Regions from separate parts of the Homo sapiens genome. Here all the other regions are linked to region 1. The links are contacts of gene promoters, found by promoter capture Hi-C in blood cells and fetal thymus (Javierre and others, 2016). All regions are on one chromosome and are shown on one strand. Each heading gives the region's core, a stretch centred on a gene start or on the middle of the fragment in contact. The rest is flanking DNA. Distances are from core to core; before and after follow the strand shown. Region 1 holds the start of ATRIP (ATR interacting protein). Region 2 overlaps NCKIPSD (NCK interacting protein with SH3 domain). Region 3 overlaps ZNF589 (zinc finger protein 589). Region 4 overlaps SLC26A6 (solute carrier family 26 member 6). Region 5 holds the start of CAMP (cathelicidin antimicrobial peptide). Region 6 overlaps CELSR3 (cadherin EGF LAG seven-pass G-type receptor 3).

Evidence for each region. Contacts are between HindIII fragments. The CHiCAGO score rates a contact against its expected background, and 5 or more counts as called.
Region 2: a fragment that was not itself captured here is called in contact with the fragment with the promoter of ATRIP in region 1 in 1 of 17 cell types (M0 macrophages); the score reaches 5.2 in M0 macrophages.
Region 3: a fragment that was not itself captured here is called in contact with the fragment with the promoter of ATRIP in region 1 in 3 of 17 cell types (endothelial precursors, megakaryocytes and M1 macrophages); the score reaches 8.1 in endothelial precursors.
Region 4: a contact is called between a fragment that was not itself captured here and the fragment with the promoter of ATRIP in region 1, in 1 of 17 cell types (M1 macrophages). The highest score is 5.6, in M1 macrophages.
Region 5: a fragment that was not itself captured here is called in contact with the fragment with the promoter of ATRIP in region 1 in 2 of 17 cell types (endothelial precursors and M0 macrophages); the score reaches 6.0 in endothelial precursors.
Region 6: a contact is called between a fragment that was not itself captured here and the fragment with the promoter of ATRIP in region 1, in 1 of 17 cell types (M0 macrophages). The highest score is 5.8, in M0 macrophages.

The regions. Positions count from the first base shown.
Region 1 is chr3:48,445,019-48,448,813 of GRCh38, reverse strand. ATRIP (ATR interacting protein) reads right to left here and starts at 2,077. Exons shown (of 13, transcript NM_130384.3): 1 at 1,722-2,077. The coding sequence starts at 1,968. It overlaps ATRIP-TREX1 (ATRIP-TREX1 readthrough), which reads right to left and starts at 2,035. Exons shown (of 15, transcript NR_153405.1): 1 at 1,722-2,035. It also overlaps a transcript of CCDC51 not described here. RefSeq lists a silencer at 1,773-2,132. The HindIII fragment of the contact is 2,012 bases long and covers 875-2,886 here.
Region 2 is chr3:48,681,553-48,685,219 of GRCh38, reverse strand. It overlaps NCKIPSD (NCK interacting protein with SH3 domain), which reads left to right. Exons shown (of 13, transcript NM_016453.4): 2 at 2,208-2,317; 3 at 2,668-2,872; 4 at 3,064-3,175; 5 at 3,440-3,667. Among named protein-coding and RNA genes, the nearest start is that of NCKIPSD, 2.5 kb to the left of the region's middle. The HindIII fragment of the contact is 268 bases long and covers 1,354-1,621 here.
Region 3 is chr3:48,243,104-48,246,798 of GRCh38, reverse strand. All of the region lies in intron 1 of ZNF589 (zinc finger protein 589), which reads right to left. Among named protein-coding and RNA genes, the nearest start is that of ZNF589, 3.8 kb to the right of the region's middle. The HindIII fragment of the contact is 365 bases long and covers 1,328-1,692 here.
Region 4 is chr3:48,629,640-48,633,532 of GRCh38, reverse strand. It overlaps SLC26A6 (solute carrier family 26 member 6), which reads left to right. Exons shown (of 21, transcript NM_022911.3): 2 at 1-56; 3 at 143-282; 4 at 449-559; 5 at 1,137-1,288; 6 at 1,489-1,653; 7 at 1,732-1,884; 8 at 2,227-2,309; 9 at 2,393-2,540; 10 at 2,813-2,926; 11 at 3,018-3,095; 12 at 3,376-3,471; 13 at 3,555-3,661; 14 at 3,822-3,891. Among named protein-coding and RNA genes, the nearest start is that of MIR6824, 2.1 kb to the left of the region's middle. RefSeq lists enhancers at 3,055-3,555, 3,556-3,893. The HindIII fragment of the contact is 5,706 bases long and covers 1-3,893 here.
Region 5 is chr3:48,220,049-48,223,617 of GRCh38, reverse strand. It overlaps CAMP (cathelicidin antimicrobial peptide), which reads right to left and starts at 123. Exons shown (of 4, transcript NM_004345.5): 1 at 1-123. The coding sequence starts at 106. RefSeq lists a silencer at 145-439 and enhancers at 449-498, 509-638, 659-778. The HindIII fragment of the contact is 1,319 bases long and covers 621-1,939 here.
Region 6 is chr3:48,648,636-48,652,140 of GRCh38, reverse strand. It overlaps CELSR3 (cadherin EGF LAG seven-pass G-type receptor 3), which reads left to right. Exons shown (of 35, transcript NM_001407.3): 12 at 93-264; 13 at 423-564; 14 at 662-782; 15 at 1,066-1,249; 16 at 1,560-1,661; 17 at 2,926-3,020; 18 at 3,213-3,422. Among named protein-coding and RNA genes, the nearest start is that of MIR4793, 6.1 kb to the right of the region's middle. The HindIII fragment of the contact is 1,812 bases long and covers 1,350-3,161 here.

The DNA of each region.
Region 1 (3,795 bases), core at 828-3,327:
ATAATATGACAGCAATCTGACTTAAGTGGGATGATTGGAACATTTCCCTAGGGAAGACTTGAAGGAGCTGAGAGCTGAAGGACAAGTAGGAATTAACCAGATGAGTGGAAATGAATGAATGAAAAGTATACTCAATGTACAAAGAAAGAACAATGTATAAAGTTCCTGTATTGTAAAGAAGCAGAGAGAATTCAAAGAATGTTAGTGCAGCCAGGACCCAGAGAGTGAGAAAGGGCCAAACCAGGCTGGGCCTTTCAGGCCATGTTAAGGATTCTGGTCTTCACACTAGAAGAAATAAGAAATTATTAAAGGGCTTTCATTAGGGGTGTTCATGGCTGGGTGCGGATGGCTCATACCTGTAATCTCAGCACTTTGGGAGACCAAGGCGGGTGGATCACCTGAGGTCAGCAGTTTGAGACCAGCCTGGCCAACATGGCGAAACCCCGTCTCTACTAAAAATACAAAAATTAGCCAGGCATGGTGGCGGGCACAAGTAATCCCAGCTACTTGGGAGGCTGAGGCTACTCGGGAGGTTGAGGCAAGAGAATCTCTTGAACCTGGGAGGTAGAGGCTGTGGTGAGCCAAGATGGCATCACTGCACTTCAGCCTGGGTGACAGAGTGAGACTCCGTCAAAAAAAAAAAAAAAAAAAAGGGTGTTCACGTATATCTGTGTAAGACACAGCCAGATTTGAGTTTTGAAAAGATCACTCAGAATGTGATGTGAAGCCTCACTTGTAGGGAGTCAAGACTGGAAATGGGAAACCAATTTAGCAGACCATTGTTCAAGAGAGGACTCATGGTAACACAGATCAGGCAGCTGGTAGAAGCAATGTGAATAGGATAGACTCCAGAGAAGGATTAAGAAGGTAAGCTTGACATGCTTTCCAAATAAATTAGATGTAGAGTCAAGGAAAGGGGAAGAGTCGCTTTGTGCCACTGGATGGAGAGTCGTGCTAGTTACTTCCTTGTGGAACATCTGGTCATCATTCTCTGAATGTCTGCTTTGCCGGCACCATGCTAGAAGTGCTGGAGGAGGACTGGGTTTCCAGGAAATGATCGTGTTGAGTTTAAGGTGCCTTGAGACACCCAAGTACAGATGCAAGGTGCACTCAAAACATTTCTCTTTCTGGGAGTCCTCAAGACTTCACTCACTCCTCAACTAGAATGTAAGCTCCATGAAGGACAGTTTTTGTATTTTGTTCATTGTAAGGTCAGCTGCAGTTCCTCACGTTTGGGCACCTAGCACAGTTTACTGGTTGTATAAAAGAATAAATTTATTTCATCTCTTGCCTGTGTCTGGCTCCTCCCATGCTCACACTGCCCAAGGGAGACAGTGGGCTTCATAAGATCTAAAGCCGCTCAAACTTGTCACAAGAATGGGTCCCCATGCATGGGTAGTGATGGTTCTGATGGTGGTGGTAGGTGTGTTCCAAGGATCTCTGCTTAGAACCAAGAACCAAGTGGCCTAAACTTTAGAAAATAACGTAAAATGTCAACTTAGCCTTCTGTGTTTCAAATCGGCTGTTTGACCTGGCTAATGCATTTCCCCCTAAAATCAAAGGACCTTCTGGAAGACAACCGCTGCTTAAATCAGGGTGTTCCCATATTTTAAAAAGGCGAAAAGGCAGTGCTGGCCGCGAGGTTCCGAAGCCACAGCCATCAAGGGGATCTGGCGCGGTTGACAACTCCCTCCGAGCAAAAGGCCGCGAGGAGCACTCACTGGACACGTCCCGAGCCGCGGCCGGACATTGGCTCAGGGCCTGTGACGCGAGGGTGTCAAGCTCCTCCAGGTCGTCGGCAGTGAAGTCCCCATGCGCGCCGAACGGGTCGTCAGGGTCCGGGGCAGCGGCTGCGGAGAAGCCCCGGGCCCGCTTGCTCGGGGGGTGCCCGGTGCCCGGCGGCGGGCCGGGGCGAGGCGCCGGGGGCTCGCTCCGCCTCTTGCTGCCTGGCGCGGAGGTCCCCGCCATGCTTTCCGCTCACCCCAAGTATCCGACAGCGCCGAGCTAGACTTGCCTGCCGCCAGGCCGGAGAACTGGACCAACCGTCCGCGCGCCGCCGCTTGCCTCCGCCGCGAGTGCCCCGCCCCTGGCCCAGGGGCCAATCAGCTGGCAGGCGGAGGGCGCGGAGGAATGACGAACGTCCGAGCGCGCCGCCACACCCGGCCCCGCCCGGTGTTTAGAGGTCCACGGGCGGGATTCGGCAGGTTTGCTGCAAGGACTCAGTGCGGCGCGACCCGTTACCGGAGAGGCGGGCCGGAGGCGCACCAGCTCCGCCGCGCTGGTGGCTTTGCGCTCCCTCCCTGGCATTCCGTGGAGGAGGGCCGCGCAGGAGCAGCCTGCCCTAGCATTCACGCGTGTTGCGTTTGAGTCGAGCCAGGCATCATTCAGGGATGTGGTCTCCGTGACCTCGCTTTCCTTCTGCCGCCAGACCCACCTCCCACAAACCCCTAGGCTTTCTTGAGGAGAGTGGAATTTGTTGGGTGAGGAGTATGAATAGAGCTGTCGTGTGCAGACATCTTCGGGTTTAGTGAATGTTTCACATGTGTACATTTGAGGTAGGCCCAGGGAGGAGGAAAGTCCAAGGAGGAATGATGTTTGGAGCTGTTCTTGTGTGGGAGGGGGTGGGAGCTGCTCAGGCTGTTAACATCCATTCCTCTGAGTGCTGGACTGTTTTTTTTTCCTAAGCTCTGGTTGTATAGAATAGGGCTCAGGAGGTCAAGGAAGTCCCCCTGTAAATGGCACCTGCGCTGTCCTACAAGTTGAGTCAAGTTAGCAGGATAGAGGGGTAGGAGGCTGGCACATAAGACTAACACGAGAATTCTACATTGAAAGGGAGGCCACACAAAGGCCAGGTAAGAGTTACCGGTGGCGAACAGAGGTAAAGCTTCACAAAGGAGCAGCAATTTGAGGTGGGCTTGCGTGCCTGACAGATTTTATTGGGCAGCTGTGGTGTGCAGAAGTTAGCCGCAATAGAGAATTTGGCAATGGAGAGTAACAGGAGCAAGACTCTTTCAGCCTTACCTGCTCAGTGCCAAACTTCACCTGTGAGTGTCCTAGGAATATTTGTGAAAGCATTAAATGAAAAGAGTAAATGAAAAAGAGAGTGCTATCAGGGCCTATAATGTCTAAGGAGTTTAAAATTTTTTGGAGCAACTGGTAGTCTCCGTCAGATAGCTTCCCAAGTGTTGCATGCTTAATTGCTGCAGGACTCTGGTCCTGGAAAGAGACAGGACTGTTCATTTGTTAAAGAGGGATAGGTTCCACCAAGTAACTTGCTTTCAGGAACAGTGTGAATCACTGGTGCTCAGGTTTGTTTTAGCAGCATACGGCTGGGTGCCAGCTAGCAAGGCCCCACAGGGAATGCCTGAAGCCTACTGAAGGGTGCTACTGGCTGTGCAACTTTCTGGAGAGGACCAACACAGGCTTCCCCCTGCCCCCTCTCCCGCGTTAATATCTAGTACATTAATCATGAAAGTTTTCAATATTCTAAAACCTAGTTTTGATTTAGCAGTCTCATAATGGTTCCAGAGCGCTCTTCGACAATATTCTCAGAGAAAGCTGAGCATTATTAACATAATTGTATTAAGGGCCTGGGAGGGAAATCCAAATACTTGTGCTTCTGAATTAATTTTTTTTTTTTAAATACAGGGTCTTGTTCTGTCTCCCAGGCTGGAGTGCAGTGGTGTGATCTTGGCTCACTGCAGCCTCGAACTCCTGGGCTCAAGTGATCCTCCCACCTCAGCCTCCCAAATGGCTGGGACTACAGAAGTGCACCACCACACCCAGCTAAGCATT
Region 2 (3,667 bases), core at 238-2,737, 240 kb before region 1:
CCCTCCCTCCCTCCCTCCCTCCCTCCCTTCCTTCTTCCCCCAACCCCGCGCCTTGCCCCCCGTTGGAGCCACCACTGAGACCTGGACCACCTTGGACACCACCTGTTTCCCTAGCCATTCTCCAGGTCCTCAACCCCCCAACTTGGACCCTAGAGCCATAGACACCTCCATCCCCTATGTAACACCCAAGCTTTGGTACTTCAGTGTCTTTCACTAGCCTGTGTTCAGCCACCCTCTAAGCTCTTCTTAAGTCTCTACCAACCTTATTTGAACCAAGGACCCATGCCCCTGCTGACACTGTCTGCTCCACTCCCCAACCCTGACTTCTCAAACTTTCTTGCTTTGAAAATGGGTTCCATCCCTACTTGTTCCCAGCCTGGAGTGGGGACTGCTCACATTGTGATGAAGTGAGTTCTTATAGCTTCTCCTGGTCTGATCGTGGCCCCATTTCCTTCCAGTGGAAGCTGCAGTCCCAGTTCCTGTTTCCCTAAGAGTAGCCCTGCTGCGGGGGTTGGGGTGCGTATCTCCAGCTGGTCTATTCTGACCACAGGGGGAAGAAGGGCCCAGAGCTGCCGGGCCTGTGCCAGACACCCCCGCCCCGTCCTAGTCCTTATCCTTTAGGAAACATCCTGTCCCAGCCCAGTTCAGGACAGAAATAACGGGATAAATTTGGAAGTGTCATCTGGTCTTACCAGGAAGGATGGGCCCTGGGGGCCTAGGGGCTTCCTCATAGACCCTTGGCGTGATCCCATCTAGGAGTGCCAGGGGTGGGAGTGGGGGCCGTGGACACCATGGCTGCTGTGTGTCAGACCCAACCTTTTTGGGAATGGGGTCTCATTGAAGGCCTCTGAGGAAAAGTCCTGTCTCTTCCCCTACTGGGCATAGGTCAAGGGCCTGTGAGTCCCCTGCCGCCAGCCAGGACCAGTGGGGCAAGGTGTTTGGGGAGGGCAGAGAGGCTACCATCTTCTCTGTCACTGTCTGTTTCTTTCTGCGTGTCTCTTTCTGTCTGGATTGCTGCGACTCTGTGCCTCTCTGCCTGTGTCGTTCCGACTCCACATGTGTGTGTTTTTGTTTCTTCCTCCGGCTCCCCCCACACTCTGGCTTTGGCTCTGTTTCTTTCTGCGTTGTTTCCCTCTGTCTGCCTCTCCGTTCCTCTCTGAGCTCCTCTCTTTCCCCATTCCTTTCTTTCTCTCTCTCTCTGTGTGTGTGTGTGTGTGTGTGTGTGTGTGTGTGTGTGTGTCTTCATGTCTTTCTATCCCCCTGTCTCCTCTCCCTGCACTCTGGCACACCTCATACCACCTGGAGGGCTTTGCTGACCTCTGTGCCCACCTGTCTGTGCCCATCAGGGAAGCTTCTCAAACCCATGGTGGAATGAGTTCATCTCAGCTCCGGGACTCCTATGTAGCCTGATGGACTACGTGTGCCAGGGCCAGGGGAGGGCTGGGGGTAGCTGGTTTGATAGCTGCTACCCTACACTCCCCATGTCAGATAGGCAGAGTAGACTGGATCCCTGGAATGTTGGGGATGGCAGTACAGAGCCTGGAACAGGGGCTAGGCCCCTCTCTCATGTTTATCCTTTGCCACAAACACAGAACTGCTTCCCAGGGTGGGTTTGGAAGCTTACTGAGACATCTTGTGGGGATGAGGGCCAGCAGCAGGGTTGGGGAGGGCAAGTCCCTTTGACCCATTCTCAGCTCCCAGGGCTTACAGAGGGCCCTTACAAGGACAGGGCTGTTCTGGGGTATGACCTTGGTTTTGTGAAAGATCAGCAAGATGCAGAGTGATGTATTAAGGATTCCAGATACTGGAGACTTCCTGTTTGGCATCTCAACCTGGGCTCTGAGCCAAGACCAGGGATAGACGAGGTATGCGCTCCTGGCTGCAAGCTGGGAGCCCCTGGGCTATGTTTTTGCTTTAGACCTCTGATTTTCAGAAACATCTTAGCCAAGAGCCTTGCTGTGGGGTAAAATCCTGATCAGGACCTAATATGTAATGTGGCAGCATGGGGGTCACCCTGTGCCTCAGCTCCCTGAGTGATACAGTTTGAGAACCCCATTCCATATTCTGGTTCAACTTTTTGTGCTATGTCTAGCATTCCAGGCTTTCGCTATATTGGTTCTCTGCCCTGGGTTCTATCTCGGGCTGGGCCTGGGCTGAGCACCTCCGTTTGGCCTTCAGGTCTAACTGCTGTCCCCTGCCCCCCCCAGGGCCTGGAGCAGGATGTCCTCCAGGCCATTGACCGGGCCATCGAGGCTGTACACAACACAGCCATGCGGGATGGTGGCAAGTACAGCCTGGAACAGCGTGGAGTCCTCCAGTGAGTGTTGAGGGGAGTGAAGTGGGACCTCCCGGTGAGCATGGTGGGGTGGGGTTCTTCAATGAGTGTCATGGGGCAGGTGGGCCTGGGAAATGCGAGGGTTGGCAAGGGTGGTGGGGGAATGGCACCTCCCAGTGAGCAAGGTGGGGTCGGGTCCTTCAGTGAGCACCAGGGGTGTGCAGAGCGCAGGACTGAGGATAGTATGGGGTACTGTAGGCTGGGGTGGAGCATGGAGGAGATGGGGATGTCTGAGGGGCCTGGGCTATGGGGTCCCAGCATCCCACAGGGGCATATGAGGACTTTGAGCTGTGAGATGCAACCCCCCAATAGTCTTCCTGTCCTTCCATCAGGAAGCTGATCCACCACCGGAAAGAGACCCTGTCACGCAGAGGCCCTTCAGCCTCCAGTGTTGCAGTTATGACCTCATCAACCAGTGACCACCACTTGGATGCTGCTGCAGCCAGGCAGCCCAATGGGGTGTGTCGAGCTGGGTTCGAGCGGCAGCACAGCCTACCCAGTTCTGAGCATCTTGGGGCAGATGGAGGCCTCTACCAGGTGTGTGGGGAGGACATCGTGGAGAAGGGAGGTGGGTGGAACTTGAGGCTTCATCCAGAGGCTCAAGGGGTCCACTCAGGAGTGATGCGGCCCAGAGCCATAGTCCTGCCCACAGCCAGGGCTCAGGGCCCGAGCCTCGCTGACGCTCTAGATGTCAGTCTGTCCTCCAAGATCCTACTTCCATCTTCCAGATCCCACTTCCATCTTCCCAGATCCCACCACAGCCTCGCCGAGCAGCACCCACCACACCGCCCCCACCAGTGAAGCGCCGAGACCGCGAGGCCCTGATGGCCTCTGGGAGTGGTAAGAAGGCAGGGTTAGGGGAATTCAGGTGGAGGCACCCTATGCTTGGAATGGTTGTGCTGCCTGTGTCAGGGAAATGGAGGCTCTAAGCTGGGGAAGAGGACAGGACTCCCATTTTGGGGCAATTAGGGGCTCTGGGCTTTGTGAGGAGGCAGTGCCTAGCAGAGAAACTAGGCCCTGTGTTAGGGGACAGGGGATCTGGGCTGTGAAGGGTATGGTTTTCCAGGGGGCTGCCCTGGCCCAGCTTCTACTCACTGCTCGCAGGTGGCCACAACACCATGCCCTCCGGGGGTAACTCTGTGTCCAGCGGCTCCTCAGTCAGCAGCACCTCCCTGGACACGCTCTATACCAGCTCCAGCCCATCTGAACCAGGCTCCAGCTGCTCACCCACACCCCCACCTGTGCCCCGCCGAGGCACCCACACCACCGTGTCCCAAGTCCAGCCCCCTCCCTCCAAGGCATCAGCACCTGAACCCCCTGCAGAAGAAGAAG
Region 3 (3,695 bases), core at 261-2,760, 200 kb after region 1:
TACTCAGGAGGCTGAGGCAGGAGAATGGCATGAACCCGGGAGGCAGAGCTTGCAGTGTGCCGAGATCGCACCACTGCACTCCGGCCTGGGCGACAGAGCGAGACTCCGTCTCAAGAAAAAAAAAAGAAAATGTTAAACACAGAAACAGAAGTCTGTGATTTAATGAAAATATTTTTTAAAAATGTGTCAGGCCGGTTTCAGTGGCTCACGCCTGTAATCCTAACACTTTGGGAGGCTGAGGTGGGAGGATCACTTGAATCCACGGCTTCAAGACCAGCCTGGGTGACAATGAGACCCACATCTCTAATAATAAAAATAATAATTATTATATTGTTTTAAAAACTTGTCAATGTTATTCCTTATTTTACAAAAGAGCATGAGTAAAAGGAGAAAAAAGTATTAAAGACCATTACAACAGCATTTCTAAAGCGCAGCTTGTCAGACTCTCATTCCTCTTCAAATTATTGTGGAACTGATTGATTGATTGATTGATTGAGATAGGGTCTCACTATTGCCCAGGCTGGAATGCAGTGGCACAATCTCTGCTCATTACAACCTCCACCTCCTGGGCTCAAGTGATCCTCCCACCTCAACTTCCCTGGGATTACAGGCATGCACCACCATGCCCAGCTAATTTTTGTATTTTTTGTAGAGATGGGGGTTTCACCATGCTGGCTAGGCTGGTCTCGAACTCCCGACCTTAAGTGATCTGCCCACATTGGCCTCTCAAAGTGCTGGGATTATAGGCATGACCCACGACGCCTGGCCTATTGTGGAATTTTAAAAGGTAAGATTTTAACATCTCTGGAGGGAAGCTCAAGCTTTCCCTGCCATATCTGTTTTTTTTTTTTTGAGACAGAGTCTCACTCTGTCACCCAGGCTGAAGGTCAATGGCACGATCTCAGCTCACTGCAACCTCCGCCTCCTGGGTTCAAGCAATTCTCCTGCATCAGCCTCCCAAGTAGCTGGGATTACAGGCACCTGCCACCATGCCTGGCTAATTTTCGTATTTTTGGTAGAGACAGGGTTTCACCATGTTGGCCAGGCTGGTCTCGAACTCCTGACCTCAGGTGATCTGCCTGCCTCGGCCTCCCAAATGCTGGGATTACAGGCGTGAGCCACCGCGCCCAGCCTTCTCTTCCATATCTTTGCTGAGGGGAAAGAAGAATGTTTTTCTGATCCTTGGGTGTCACTGATTCTGAAAGTTCAGAAAAGGAACTGGGATGTCATATTTCTAACCTGTGACCTGTGCCTTTGTAGAAGGGACAGAGTCTGGGGAAGGGAGTGCCTCTCAGGGGGACGAGGGTCTTAGCAGCAGTCTGAAGCTTCCTCCTTGACACCCTTTATTCCAGGCATATGTGTTTATAAGATACATAGAAGCTGGCCAGGCTCTGCACGGTGCCTCATGCCTGTAATCCCAGCACGTTAGGTGGCCGAGGTGGGCTGATTGCTTGAGCCCAGAAGTTCAAGATCAACCTGGGCAATGGTGAACCCCATCTCTACAAAAAATAAAAAAATTAGCCGGGCGTGGTGGTGTACACCTGTAGCCCCAGCTACTTGGGAGGCTGAAGTGGCAGGATCATTTGAGCCCCAGAGGCAAAGGTTGCAATGAAGTGAGAGATCACACCATTATACTCCAGCCTCAGTGACAGAGCCGGGGAAACCCTGTCTCTGAAAAGATACATATAAGCTTATAATGGCTGGGCGTGGCTCAAGCCCATAATCCCAGCACTTCGGGAGGCCAAGGTGGGCGGTAAGTAGTTCGAGACCAGCCTGGCCAACATGGTGAAACCCCATCTCTACCAAAAACGCAAAAATTAGCCAGGTGTGGTGGCGCATGCCTGTAATCCCAGCTTCTCGGGAGGCTGAGGCAGGAGAATCACTTGAACCCGGGAGGCGGAGGTTCCAGTGGGCTGAGATGGTGCCACTGCACTCCAGCCTGGGCAACAAGAGTAAAAAACTCCATCTCAAAGAAAAAAAAAAAAAAAGCTTATAATTCGTCCCATCTATTTTTGAGCTCCCCAGAGTAATAGTGCAGTTACTGTGGGGAATTAGGCTAAGGGTAGCCTTGTCCTTGGGTTTGCAAGAAAAAAAAAAAGGCCCTAAATGTGATAATGACATCACCCCTGCTGAAATCATCACCCCTGGAAAACACTCTAAACAGACCCCAGCAACAACTCTGGCTTTTGTACTAAGTGATGAGAATGTGTCAAGTGATTTCATAAAGACATATATACAATTTCTCCTCTTGCATGCCCTAGAAAACCATCATCCTGGCCCCATAATATGTGCCTATACTATGTATCTATCCAGAACTGCACATTTTTGTGTAAATGGAGCAGCATTTTAAAATTAAAAATATATATATAAAATTATAGTCTTGTTTGATAACTGTCTGGGGTAATTTTCCAAGTTACTGTTTTCCTGACTAAACTCAGGAGGAAAACAAAGCAATCTTACTATTTCAAGTTCTAAAGTTTTAGAAGAAGAAAAACTGAGTACCATTATTTGGCCACTCCCAGTGGCTACATCTGAGCAAAGCACAAGGCAAGGAGGCAGCTCCTCAGTCTTTTCAGCAAAAAAGACCATCTAAGCCTCTCCCTTCCAGAGGGACAGGTGGTTCTGATCCCACTGAGCAGGTGGGAAAAAAATGAGGGACACAGAGTAACCTCACACAGCTGAACTAAGGGATCCTACCTCCTGAGTCCTGACTCTGCCCTGACTCCTTAGGTGCCTCTCCCCAGCATGAGACCACTCACAGGCAAATCCTTCAGAGAGGCAAATAAGTCCTCCAAAAAGGGAACAGGTGCTGAATCACAGGCACACTCCAGGACCTCACGATGTGCCTCCGCCCATGTTGGACACATCTGGGAAGCACTTAAGCAAGTCAAAGAACCTTTCTAGCTCTGTGACCACAAAACATCTTCTTTGCCACTCATGACAAGAGGGAAAAGTTATTATCCTTCTAAAGTTCAACTTAGTGTTACTGCCTTTTTTTTTTTTTTTGAGACAGACTTTCACTCTTGGTGCCCAGGCTAGAATACAGTGGCGCGATCTAAGCTCACTGCAACCTCCACCTCCTGCCTCAGCCTTCTGAGTAGCTGGGATTACAAGCGCGCACCACCAAGCCCAGCTATTTTTGTATTTTTAGTAGAGATAGAGGTTCACTATGTTGGCCAGGCTGGTCTCGAACTCCTGACCTCAGGTGATCTACCCGCCTCAGCCTCCCAAAGTGCTGTGATTACAAACGTGAGTCACCGCGCCCGGTCCATTGTCTTTACTTTCTTTAGCTTTGCTATCCAATTGAACTGGTCTTGGCACAGTAGGCAGAGACAAAGCCCACCACCCTCAAAGAGTGGATGGAAGGAGGCACAAGGGCTCCCACACAGGACAAACAGCTACATGCTGAACAATGGCTTGGCAAACTACACACAAGCCAAATCCAGCCTGCCACCTGTTGTTATACCACCCAAAGGCTAAGAATAGTCTTTACTTCAGAAAAAAAAAATTTTAACACAAAGATGAAGTCTCACTATGTTGCCCAGGCTGGTCTCAAACTTCTGGGCTCAAGTGATCCTAGCCTCAGCCTTCCAAAGTGCTGGGATTACAGGCGTGAGCCACCATGCTGGGCCAGTTTTTACATTTTTAATTGGCTGAAAAAAAAATCAGAAACAGAATATTTCATAATAATGAAA
Region 4 (3,893 bases), core at 987-3,486, 180 kb before region 1:
GAGCTGGGGCGCTGGGGCTCAGCACCTAGGACCCACCAGTGGCGGACCTGGTTGCAGTAAGGCCAAGATTGGGGCCTGGGGGCGCTGGCGGGGCCCAGGTAGCCCCTGTTCCTGACACCTACCCCTCATATCATGTCCCTAGGTGCTCCCGTGCTCGGGCCTATGCCCTTCTGCTCCAACACCTCCCGGTTTTGGTCTGGTTACCCCGGTATCCTGTGCGTGACTGGCTCCTGGGTGACCTGTTATCCGGCCTGAGTGTGGCCATCATGCAGCTTCCGCAGGGTGAGCCACCTTCAGTGCGTCGGCCTGGAAACCCTGTGGTCTGTGATGCCCAAAACTGGGGCCATGACCTCTACCTTGGAACTATGGCACCTAACCCAGGGCTGGGATTCCCTTATCGTTTCAAGATCTGCTCTCCAGGCCTGCACTGCTACCATTCTACCCCTAGGCTTGGCCTACGCCCTCCTGGCTGGATTGCCCCCCGTGTTTGGCCTCTATAGCTCCTTCTACCCTGTCTTCATCTACTTCCTGTTTGGCACTTCCCGGCACATCTCCGTGGGTAAGTGGAGGCAGGCCTAGCCTTCCAGGAGGATGCCCACATCCATCATGGAGGGCAGGGTGAGGGGGCACTGAGCAGGGCAGGAGCGGCTGGGGAAGAGGGCAGCATTGGTGCTGCATCCCTGGGCTAGCCCACGAGTCATCCCCAGGCAGGACTAGACCCCTGACTGTAGGACCACAGAGGCAGGTGACCTCAAAGCCCTGGCTCCAGGAAGATGAGAGTGGGTGAGGCAGCCCAAGGGGCCTGGAACTTGGCAGAGGCCTGAGCAGCCTAAGGCCAGCCCTGACCCCTTCCCTACTCCACAGAGAGCCTCTGTGTCCCGGGACCAGTAGACACAGGTGGGACAGGGTAGATGAGACAGGGCCAGCATTTCTAGCCATGCTTAAGGGCCTGTGAGCTCAGGGTTTACTCCTGGCCTGGCCAAACCTGAACCGCCAGCACTGTCCCTGTTCATGCAGCCATAATCTGAGTACATTTATCCAGAACTGGAAGTCTCCTGGCCTCTCTCTTAAGACCAGGGCTCCAGGGCAGGGCAGTGTCCTCTCCTCTTCAGACCTGCCCCGTGCCGTCCTTACAGGGACCTTTGCTGTCATGTCTGTGATGGTGGGCAGTGTGACAGAATCCCTGGCCCCGCAGGCCTTGAACGACTCCATGATCAATGAGACAGCCAGAGATGCTGCCCGGGTACAGGTGGCCTCCACACTCAGTGTCCTGGTTGGCCTCTTCCAGGTGTGGAACAGTCAGGAGTATGTGCCCCCCACCACCACTTCTGCTCCCGCCACTGTCCTGTCTGTACTCCCCTGAGTGTCTGACCATCGTCGTCCTCCTCTTGCCGTCTACTCATCCCCCTCCCATCCCACTTGCCCTGCGCTCCTCATTAGCAACCCCAGGACCCCTGCCTCTCCTGACTGCCCCTGGCCGCCCCACAGGTGGGGCTGGGCCTGATCCACTTCGGCTTCGTGGTCACCTACCTGTCAGAACCTCTTGTCCGAGGCTATACCACAGCTGCAGCTGTGCAGGTCTTCGTCTCACAGCTCAAGTATGTGTTTGGCCTCCATCTGAGCAGCCACTCTGGGCCACTGTCCCTCATCTATGTGAGTGAGGGTAGGGGGAGGGAGGGGTAGGTGTGCCCCATGGCCTTGAGTGCTAGCTGTGACCTGGCCTCTCCTCAGACAGTGCTGGAGGTCTGCTGGAAGCTGCCCCAGAGCAAGGTTGGCACCGTGGTCACTGCAGCTGTGGCTGGGGTGGTGCTCGTGGTGGTGAAGCTGTTGAATGACAAGCTGCAGCAGCAGCTGCCCATGCCGATACCCGGGGAGCTGCTCACGGTTCGAGGGCCAGGGAGTGGAGGGCAGGGGAGAAGGGCAGGTCAGGCTGGGTCCTTGCCACGTGGGCAGCCTCCTGTATTTGAGGGCCAGCTGGAGGGGGGCTGGGAGGGTTCTTGGGTATTGTGGGGGGCACAGCAGAAAGCCCCTATGTTGGTTTCTTCCTGCCCCTGACAGCATCTCCCCATAGCCGAAATGGTGTTGCCTGTCTCTCACCCTACGTGACTTTTTCCCACCCTCGAAGAAGGTTTTGCCCAGTATCTCCCTCCTCACCTCACAGTGGTTTATGTGTCCCCCTGACCATGGTGCCAGCACCTGCCTCCCTGACTCTGTCCTCTCCCACAGCTCATCGGGGCCACAGGCATCTCCTATGGCATGGGTCTAAAGCACAGATTTGAGGTAGATGTCGTGGGCAACATCCCTGCAGGGTGAGCTCTGGCCTCCATCAGGTCAGGGAGGGTTGGGCAGCCAGGACAGGACCTTGCTTTGGCCTCACAGATACCTCTCACAGGCTGGTGCCCCCAGTGGCCCCCAACACCCAGCTGTTCTCAAAGCTCGTGGGCAGCGCCTTCACCATCGCTGTGGTTGGGTTTGCCATTGCCATCTCACTGGGGAAGATCTTCGCCCTGAGGCACGGCTACCGGGTGGACAGCAACCAGGTCTGGGTGATGCGGGATGTGTAGGAGGCATCCAAGTGTATGGAGGCGCCAGCAACGGGTGGGGGAGGAACCGGTGGGACACAGGGAGACAGCAGATGTGCTGAGGCCACGTGGGGGACTGAGGGTGGGAGAGCAGGACGTGTGGGACAGCATCCAGTCTCTGGGGGCCACTTGGTGGGGATGGAGATTGGGGATGCACAGGCCTAGATACAGTGGAACAGTGACCAGCCACTTCTAGGAAGTCTTCTCACACCCGTACTGTCCCCCGTCAGGAGCTGGTGGCCCTGGGCCTCAGTAACCTTATCGGAGGCATCTTCCAGTGCTTCCCCGTGAGTTGCTCTATGTCTCGGAGCCTGGTACAGGAGAGCACCGGGGGCAACTCGCAGGTGGGCTTTGGGTGTGGGCATGGGTGTGGGCATGCACATTGCTTTGCCTGGGGAAGGAGGTCTCTCCCCTGCTCACTCCCTCCCCGAACAGGTTGCTGGAGCCATCTCTTCCCTTTTCATCCTCCTCATCATTGTCAAACTTGGGGAACTCTTCCATGACCTGCCCAAGGTGAGCCCCCACCCAGCCAGGTTTCAGGTCTTGGCCAGGCCAGGGCTCTCAAATCAGCCAGTCTAGGTTCAGGCGAGGGGTGGGGACACAAGGTTAGGTTCTGTTTTTCAAGGCTGAGATCTTCAAGGTGAGATTTGGAGACAAGGGTCAGGGGCTGGGTGGGGGTTTGTGTCTGGGGTACTGCCTGAGTGCTTGGGCTTAGTCTGGCTTTGCCTCGGTGAGGAGGGTTGTCAGCATCGGGTGCCCTCAATGGCCCCTGGTGGCACTGTCCCCACCCCAGGCGGTCCTGGCAGCCATCATCATTGTGAACCTGAAGGGCATGCTGAGGCAGCTCAGCGACATGCGCTCCCTCTGGAAGGCCAATCGGGCGGATCTGGTGAGTGCACTGGGAGCCCAGGGCAGGGACTGGGCAGCCCCATGGCTCCTCGCCGCCCTCCAACCGCTGCCCTCTGTTCTCAGCTTATCTGGCTGGTGACCTTCACGGCCACCATCTTGCTGAACCTGGACCTTGGCTTGGTGGTTGCGGTCATCTTCTCCCTGCTGCTCGTGGTGGTCCGGACACAGATGTGAGTCCGCCATGTTGGTCCCCTCATTCCAGCTAGTGAGAGAGTACCACAGGGCTCCCCGCAGCTTTCCCCACATCTCTGGGGACTTCAGGCTCCTTCGGACCCCTCTGTTATCCCCTTTTTCTGCCCCCTCTTCGTGCATTCTCTCTCTCCTTCACAGGCCCCACTACTCTGTCCTGGGGCAGGTGCCAGACACGGATATTTACAGAGATGTGGCAGAGTACTCAGAGGT
Region 5 (3,569 bases), core at 31-2,530, 220 kb after region 1:
TGTAGCTGAGGACCTGGGCAATGATGGCCAGAGGCATCACCAGGCCCAGCAGCAGGAGCACCAGTGACCACCGCCCCAGGGAGTGGCCATCCCTTTGGGTCTTCATGGTCCCCATGTCTGCCTCCCTCTAGCCCACAGGAGCCTCCTTTATGCCCAGCCTGAGCCTGATGCAAAAGCCCAACCAGGAGCCTTCCTGATCCACCCATCCCTGGCTGCCTGCCAGGGTGTGGGCTGGGGTTTGCTTTAGCCCCTGGCTATTGCTTCACAGGACTTGCTGGGCAGTGAGTGAGGCCTTCCTTGTGTGCAAGATGAGGAAGTGGTTTCTTCATCTCTGACAACCTCCCAGACCTGACCGGAGATTGTCATAGCCAGGGGTGCTCAAGAGCGTTAAATCCCTCCAGAGAGGAAGAGAGCCAGGTGCCTATTCTACATCCTTCTACTCCTCAGGAGTCAGTATGATGGACTGCTAAATCTCCAGCTCTAGGCATTGCCTGGCACCCTGTAGGCATCGATTAAGAATTGATGAATGAGGCAGGGCACGGTGGCTCACGCCTATAATCCCAGCACTTTGGGAGGCCAAGGTGGGCGGATCACCTGAGATAAGGAGTTCGAGACAAGCTTGGCCAACATGGTGAAACCCCATCTCTACTAAAAATATGAAAATTAGCCACGCATGATGGCTCACACCTGTAGTCCCAGCTACAAGCTGAGGCATGAGAATCACTTGAACCCATTGAACCCGGGAAGCAGAAGTTGCAGTTAGCTGAGATCATGCCACTGCACTCCAGCCTGGGTAACAGAGTGAGACTCAGTATGAAAAAAAAAAAAAAGAACTGGTAAATGAAGACAGTAGCCACCCCCAACCTAGAGACTCACTCTTGCAAGGGACAAGTTGCCCTTTCAGTTCAAGGCCATACCACATGCTCTCTGGACCCAGCCGTCAGCCAGACGAAGGCTCTGCTCCATCTATCCCCTTCTGCATCCTTCTTCACTGTTTTTTTCAGTCTCAAAATGTTCCCAAGCCCCTCCAGACATGGCCTTTCACCATGGCTTCTCCCAAGCCAAGTCTTAGGAAAGGTTGTCTACGCTTCTTGACCCCATCTTTTCACTCTTCTTCATGCTGAAGGCCACTGAAGGCTGGCCAACCCACCCTTGGTCCATGGCCACCCTCAAGCCTGGTCTTTGTCTGCACAGGCACTGGTGAGCCTTCCTTCTTGCTGCCCCGGTCTCCCCTGATGCCACTCTCCTGCTGTCCCTCCTGCCTCCCTGGTGGCTCCTTCTTGGTCTCCCCTAAGGGCTGTCTTCTTAATATTGAGAGCGTGTGGGGTCACCTCCTGGGCTGCTTCTCTTCCCTGGCCTCGGGTTTCCCTGGGGACGCCCTCTCCCAGGACACCAGTTATAATAGGCAGACACCACCCAGTCTGTATCTCTGAGTTCGAGACTCCCATGAACGTCCCGGTTGTCCCCACTGGGCCTCCTTGACTGCTCTTCTGCTGAGTGCCCACTGCATGAGCCCTGAAGCACCTTTGGCTCCTTCCTCCCGAAAGCACTCCCCTCTGGCCTCTCCTTCCACCCCTGCCTGGCTCCTGCCGCCATCTTCTCTCCCATGCAATGCTGCCCCAGCCTCCAGACTCCACCTTCTCTAGGTTTCAGGCTCTCCCCAGACCACAGTCCACCCTCCACACCGTTGTCCAGGGGTTCCTTTAAACCACCAATTTGGCCATTTCAACCCTCTACCTTCAGGAGCCCACACACCCCCTAGGCTGGCATCAGGGCCTGTGGCCTTTTGGTTCCCACTGCCCTCACCCCAGCCCTGCACACTGCAAGTGCCAGACTGTCACGTATGCCCCCATCACATAGGCTCATCTGAGCCTCCTGCTCTTTCTCCCAGCTCTGCCCCGATCCTTCTGTTTGGCCTGCCCTTTCACCTCATGAAGCTTTCCCTGACCTCCAACCAGGCACAGCAATCTCCTCTTTGCCCCTACATCTTCCAGGAAGTCTCTCCTGATTCGACCTCAAATTACTCCCTGTTTGGTGCTCTAGCTGAGACACCAAGCTGGGATGGGTGGCTGGTGTTGGGAGAGGGAGAGATCACAGCCAGGAGAGATAAAGGGCCAAAGTGATAGAGGGGTCCAGCGTCCATGAGGCAAATTCCGGTCCCAGCTCCTCTGTGGACTGGCCATGTGGCCCTGAGGCCTGGGGTACCTCTTGACCTCAGTTGGCCTGTGGGACACTTGGGGGCTTGGACAGCAGGGCTCCTGGAAGGTGGAAGCCTGGACGAAGGCCACCGGTTGCACACCTGGCCTTGAGAGAAGGAAGAAGTGGGCTTCTGTGCAACCTGGTTTCACAGTTCAAGTGTTGCCCCAGTGGCCTGTTGGTCAAGCAGGGCTTGCACATCAGGTCTTTTATGGCTGTTGGGAAAAGGGCCATCCAGGGATATCAGACCTCTCAGGGCTCTCCTGCTTCCTCCACCCTTCTGACTGGCTTCAGGATCCCCAAGAAGCCAAACCGGGGAGAAGCAGATGGCAATGTTAGTCCTTAGGCTAGGGCGTGAGAGCTGCATGCTCCTGTGTTCCTCTAGGTCAGATCTGGCATATTCAGAGCCCCTTTCCAACTGCCTCAAGAGGACGTTCCACTTCGGCCAGTGCTGGACACGCCCTCACATGAAATCAGCCAGAGCCCAAGCAGCTTGCATAGGCCCTCTGATACAACTGCAGAAGTCTGGACTCAGGGGCACTTGCTTTCCCTCTCAGGGCCATCGCACAAGGTCCAGGCTTCCCAGGTTCCAGGAGTGAGTCCTGCCCTCGGCACATGCAGGTCGGTGTCCACTACCTGAGGTAGGGCGGCTGACTTCAGACCTTTAGAACCCATGGCTGCCCCTTCCTCCTAGAGAGGGAGAAAGGAGGCTCTCACCAGCTCGCCTTTTTCATAATGGCTCACCCCATTAATAGAGTGATCAGAAGATTCTAGGCAAGGCGGAATGAGAAAAGAAAAGTGAGGCTTAGCCGGGCGCGGTGGCTCACGCCCGTAATCCCAGCACTTTGGAAGGCCGAGGTGGCCTGATCATGAGGTCAGGAGATTGAGACCATCCTGGCTAACACAGTGAAACCCCGTCTCTAGCTGGGTGTGGTGGCATGCGCCTGTAGTCCCAGCTACTTGGGAGGCTGAGGCAGGAGAATGGTGTGAACCCAGGAGGCGGAGCTTGCAGTGAGCTGAGATGGCGCCACTGCACTCCAGCCTGGGCAAGAGTGTAAGACTCCGTCTCAAAAAAAAAAAAAAAGTTAGGCTTTTCCACATCAAGACTTGAGGGCTAGATAAATGTCCCTTCACAAAGGCCTGGGCAGCCCCTGTCCCTCTGTCTCTCTATCTCTCTCTCTTTCCTCTCTCTCTCTGAATCTCCCACCCTGACTTCTCTAAGTGGCCCCTTCCTCTCCTGCAGACCCAGGAGGCTCCAACTCCTACACAATGTGATCAGGGAACCTGGTGCACTGGGACTGCTGAAGGCTCTGAGAGACTTTCCACAGATGAGCAGATGCTGGAGCTACCCTCTCCCACTCCACAATCCCTCC
Region 6 (3,505 bases), core at 1,006-3,505, 200 kb before region 1:
CAAGGATCATCAGACCGGGTGGCTGGCTCTGCAGTACTTGAGGCTGAGGTGCCTTAACATGGTCTCACCCCTTGCTGGCTGTGTGTCCACAGGGGGTGTGGCTCGGCTCCACACCCTCTGGCTCCCCGGCCCTGCTACCCCCCAGCCACCGAGTGAATGCGGAGCCTGGCTGTGTTGTGACCAACGCCTGTGCCTCTGGGCCCTGCCCACCTCACGCAGACTGCCGGGACCTCTGGCAGACCTTTTCTTGCACCTGCCAGCCAGGTGAGCCTTGAGAGGGTTGGGGGAAGGGTGACCTGGGCAGGCGTTAGGGGCCCATGATGAAGACTGGGGAACCTGAAGGAGGCAGGGACTCGGGACGGGTGCCTGCTTCCTTCCATGCTCTGCGACCAGGATCCTGAGCTTTCTGACCCAATCTGCAGGTTACTACGGCCCAGGCTGTGTGGATGCCTGCCTCCTGAACCCCTGTCAGAACCAGGGATCATGCCGGCACCTGCCAGGAGCCCCCCATGGCTATACCTGTGACTGTGTGGGTGGCTATTTCGGGCACCACTGTGAGCACAGGTAAGAGGCTGGGGCTGAGGCGATGGGGAGACCTGGCAGGGACAGGGAGGGTCACTGGGATACCGTGGAGGCATCTTACCTGGCTCTGCACCCCCAGGATGGACCAGCAGTGCCCACGGGGCTGGTGGGGGAGCCCAACCTGTGGCCCCTGCAACTGTGATGTTCACAAAGGTTTTGATCCCAACTGCAACAAGACAAATGGGCAGTGTCACTGCAAGGTGCGCCTGGCCCCTGACCTTTTAACCCTTCCTTGGACGCAATCTGCAATTCCTGTCCAGCTTGCTGACCTCCGCCACCTGACTTGGGCCCTAACCTCTTGCCTGTGTCCTGTGACCAAGTTGCTGTCTCTCATCCTTTACCCGTGACCCCTCCCTTGGCTTCACGCATGACCCAGGTGTCCTCTGGCCCATGAGCACTGTTCTCTTGACCCTTTATCCTTGATTCCACTCATTCCCCAAGCCCTGACCTCTGACTTCAGGCCCCTGGCCCATCCTCAAACAGGAGTTCCACTACCGACCGCGGGGCAGTGACTCTTGCCTCCCATGTGACTGCTACCCTGTGGGCTCCACCTCGCGCTCATGTGCACCCCACAGCGGGCAGTGCCCCTGTCGCCCAGGAGCCCTTGGCCGCCAGTGCAACAGCTGTGACAGTCCCTTCGCAGAGGTGACAGCCAGCGGCTGCCGGGGTGAGCAGGCTCCACCCAGCTCCACCCATAGAGGGCTGGTTCCAGTGTGCCACCATCACGTGTCAGTGGCACACATGGCTCCTTGGGGACTCTGGAAGCTTCTCCTGAGGGAGACCACTTACACCCAGGGAACCCTACCTTTGCCCCAAGTACTTTGCTGACCTGTCACAGAATCTGACAGGTCAGCTCCTGAGAAGCCAGCAGGAGTGGCGGGCAGTGGGCCTTGTGGGGGGTGGTGGAGGGGCAGTGGGTGTGGCTGTCAACTGCCCTGTACCCTGACTGCCTGGCTCAGCACCTCTTCTCTCTCTAGTGCTCTATGATGCCTGCCCTAAGTCCCTGAGATCTGGTGTGTGGTGGCCCCAGACAAAGTTTGGCGTCCTGGCCACAGTGCCCTGTCCCCGGGGGGCCCTGGGTGAGTATGTGGGGGGAAAGGACATCACTGAGGGTGGGGGTGGGCCTGTACTCTGACTGCTAGAGCCATGTCTTTTCCTAAATTGGGTGGCTTTGTTCCTGCAAAGAGGTGGAAGTGGGGTGGGAGTCCATGTGGGCCCCTCCCTACACCCTCATTGAGCCTCCATCTGTTTCTCTTGGCTTCTGGGCAGGATTGCGGGGTGCAGGTAAGGGGTACGTGTTTGCTCAGGTGCACTGCCCCCTCCCACTACCAGAGCTTTTGCAGACCCCTCCTGCTGCCTGAGGTCCCTGCAGACCCCTCCCTGCTGCCTAAAGTCCCTGCAGGCCCCTTCTGGCTATCTGAGTACCCCAGGGGCCCTTCTCTGATGCCTGAGATCCTCAGAGACCCCTCCCCATTGCCTGAGGACCCTGCTGACCCCTTCTCAGTTCCTGGGGTCCCCATAGAACTTTCCCCACTGCCTGAGGTCACGAAAGATCCCTCCTCAGTCTGAGGACCCTATAGCTCCTTCCTGCTGCTTGGGGGCCCCTCCCCACTGCCTGAGGTCCCCTCAGAACACTCCCTGCTGCTTGAGGTCTCTGCAGTGGCTGGACAGAGATTGTTTGTGTACGCATGCTCACGTGTGTATCTCTGTGCCTGTGCACGTGTCTGTGAACCTGTTGCGGGGAGGGGATTCTGTGATTAAGTTAGGCTCTCTCTTGTTGGTAGCTACAAACTTTTTTAAGATCCAAGTCAATTCTCATTCAACCTCCATCCCAACCCCAGAGACAAGGGAGAGAAATGACAGCAAAGTAACCACTGGGGCAGTTAAAACTTGTGTGAGAATCCTCCCACCTGACTTTCACTGGATGTTCCTAGAAGCCCTCTTCTGTGTTGGCATGTCTGTGTGTGTGCGAGAGAGCATTGTGTGTCTGCGTACTGGTCTGGTCCATACATCTGTGTGTAATTGGTGAGCATTGGTGTGTGTCTGTGTGAACCAGCACATCTATGAGCCAGTCCTGGCCCACGTGGGTGAGTGTGTGCAGCCCCACCCTTGTGCTTTGTGTGGTTGCTGGTTGAGAATGGTCTACAGCCCTCTCAGGAATTGCCTGACAAGCAGCTGGGGCCTACCTGGGCTTGGGCCGCTACCTCCAGGGGTGCAGCTATAGATGCTCATGACTCTGACTTCTGCCTCAGGGATTCCCCCAGCATAGGAGAGGGTGCTGCGGTTATCTCCTCAGCAAAGGTATCCAGGCCCCAGGCCTGACCAGGGGTTGCCTGCCTCCAGGTGCTGCTGTGCGGCTGTGTGATGAGGCCCAGGGTTGGCTGGAGCCCGACCTCTTCAACTGTACCTCCCCTGCCTTTCGAGAGCTCAGTCTGCTGGTGAGACTGCCCAGACCTTTTCCTGCAACCTAAGACCTTCCTTGGCCTGTGGTGGGCCCCAGATACCACACCCTAGCCCTTGAACTCCTGAGCCTTTCCTGGTTGCCCTTTAATCTGGCAAGGCTTTCTCCCTGTGAAGCTTTAGAGGAAGGCCTAAGGGACCACAGAGCAACCATCTCCTTGTCTTGGCAGCTGGATGGCCTAGAGCTGAACAAGACGGCACTGGATACCATGGAGGCCAAGAAGCTGGCTCAGCGGCTACGGGAGGTGACTGGCCACACTGACCACTATTTTAGCCAAGATGTTCGAGTCACTGCCCGCCTGCTGGCCCACCTGCTGGCCTTCGAGAGCCATCAGCAGGGCTTCGGGCTGACAGCCACACAGGATGCCCACTTCAATGAGGTGGGGCTGTGCCCTATGTTCTCAGTGCCTTGGCCCCCCAGCTCCCAGCCTCCTGCCCCTGGATCCCCAGCTCAGGCTCCTGC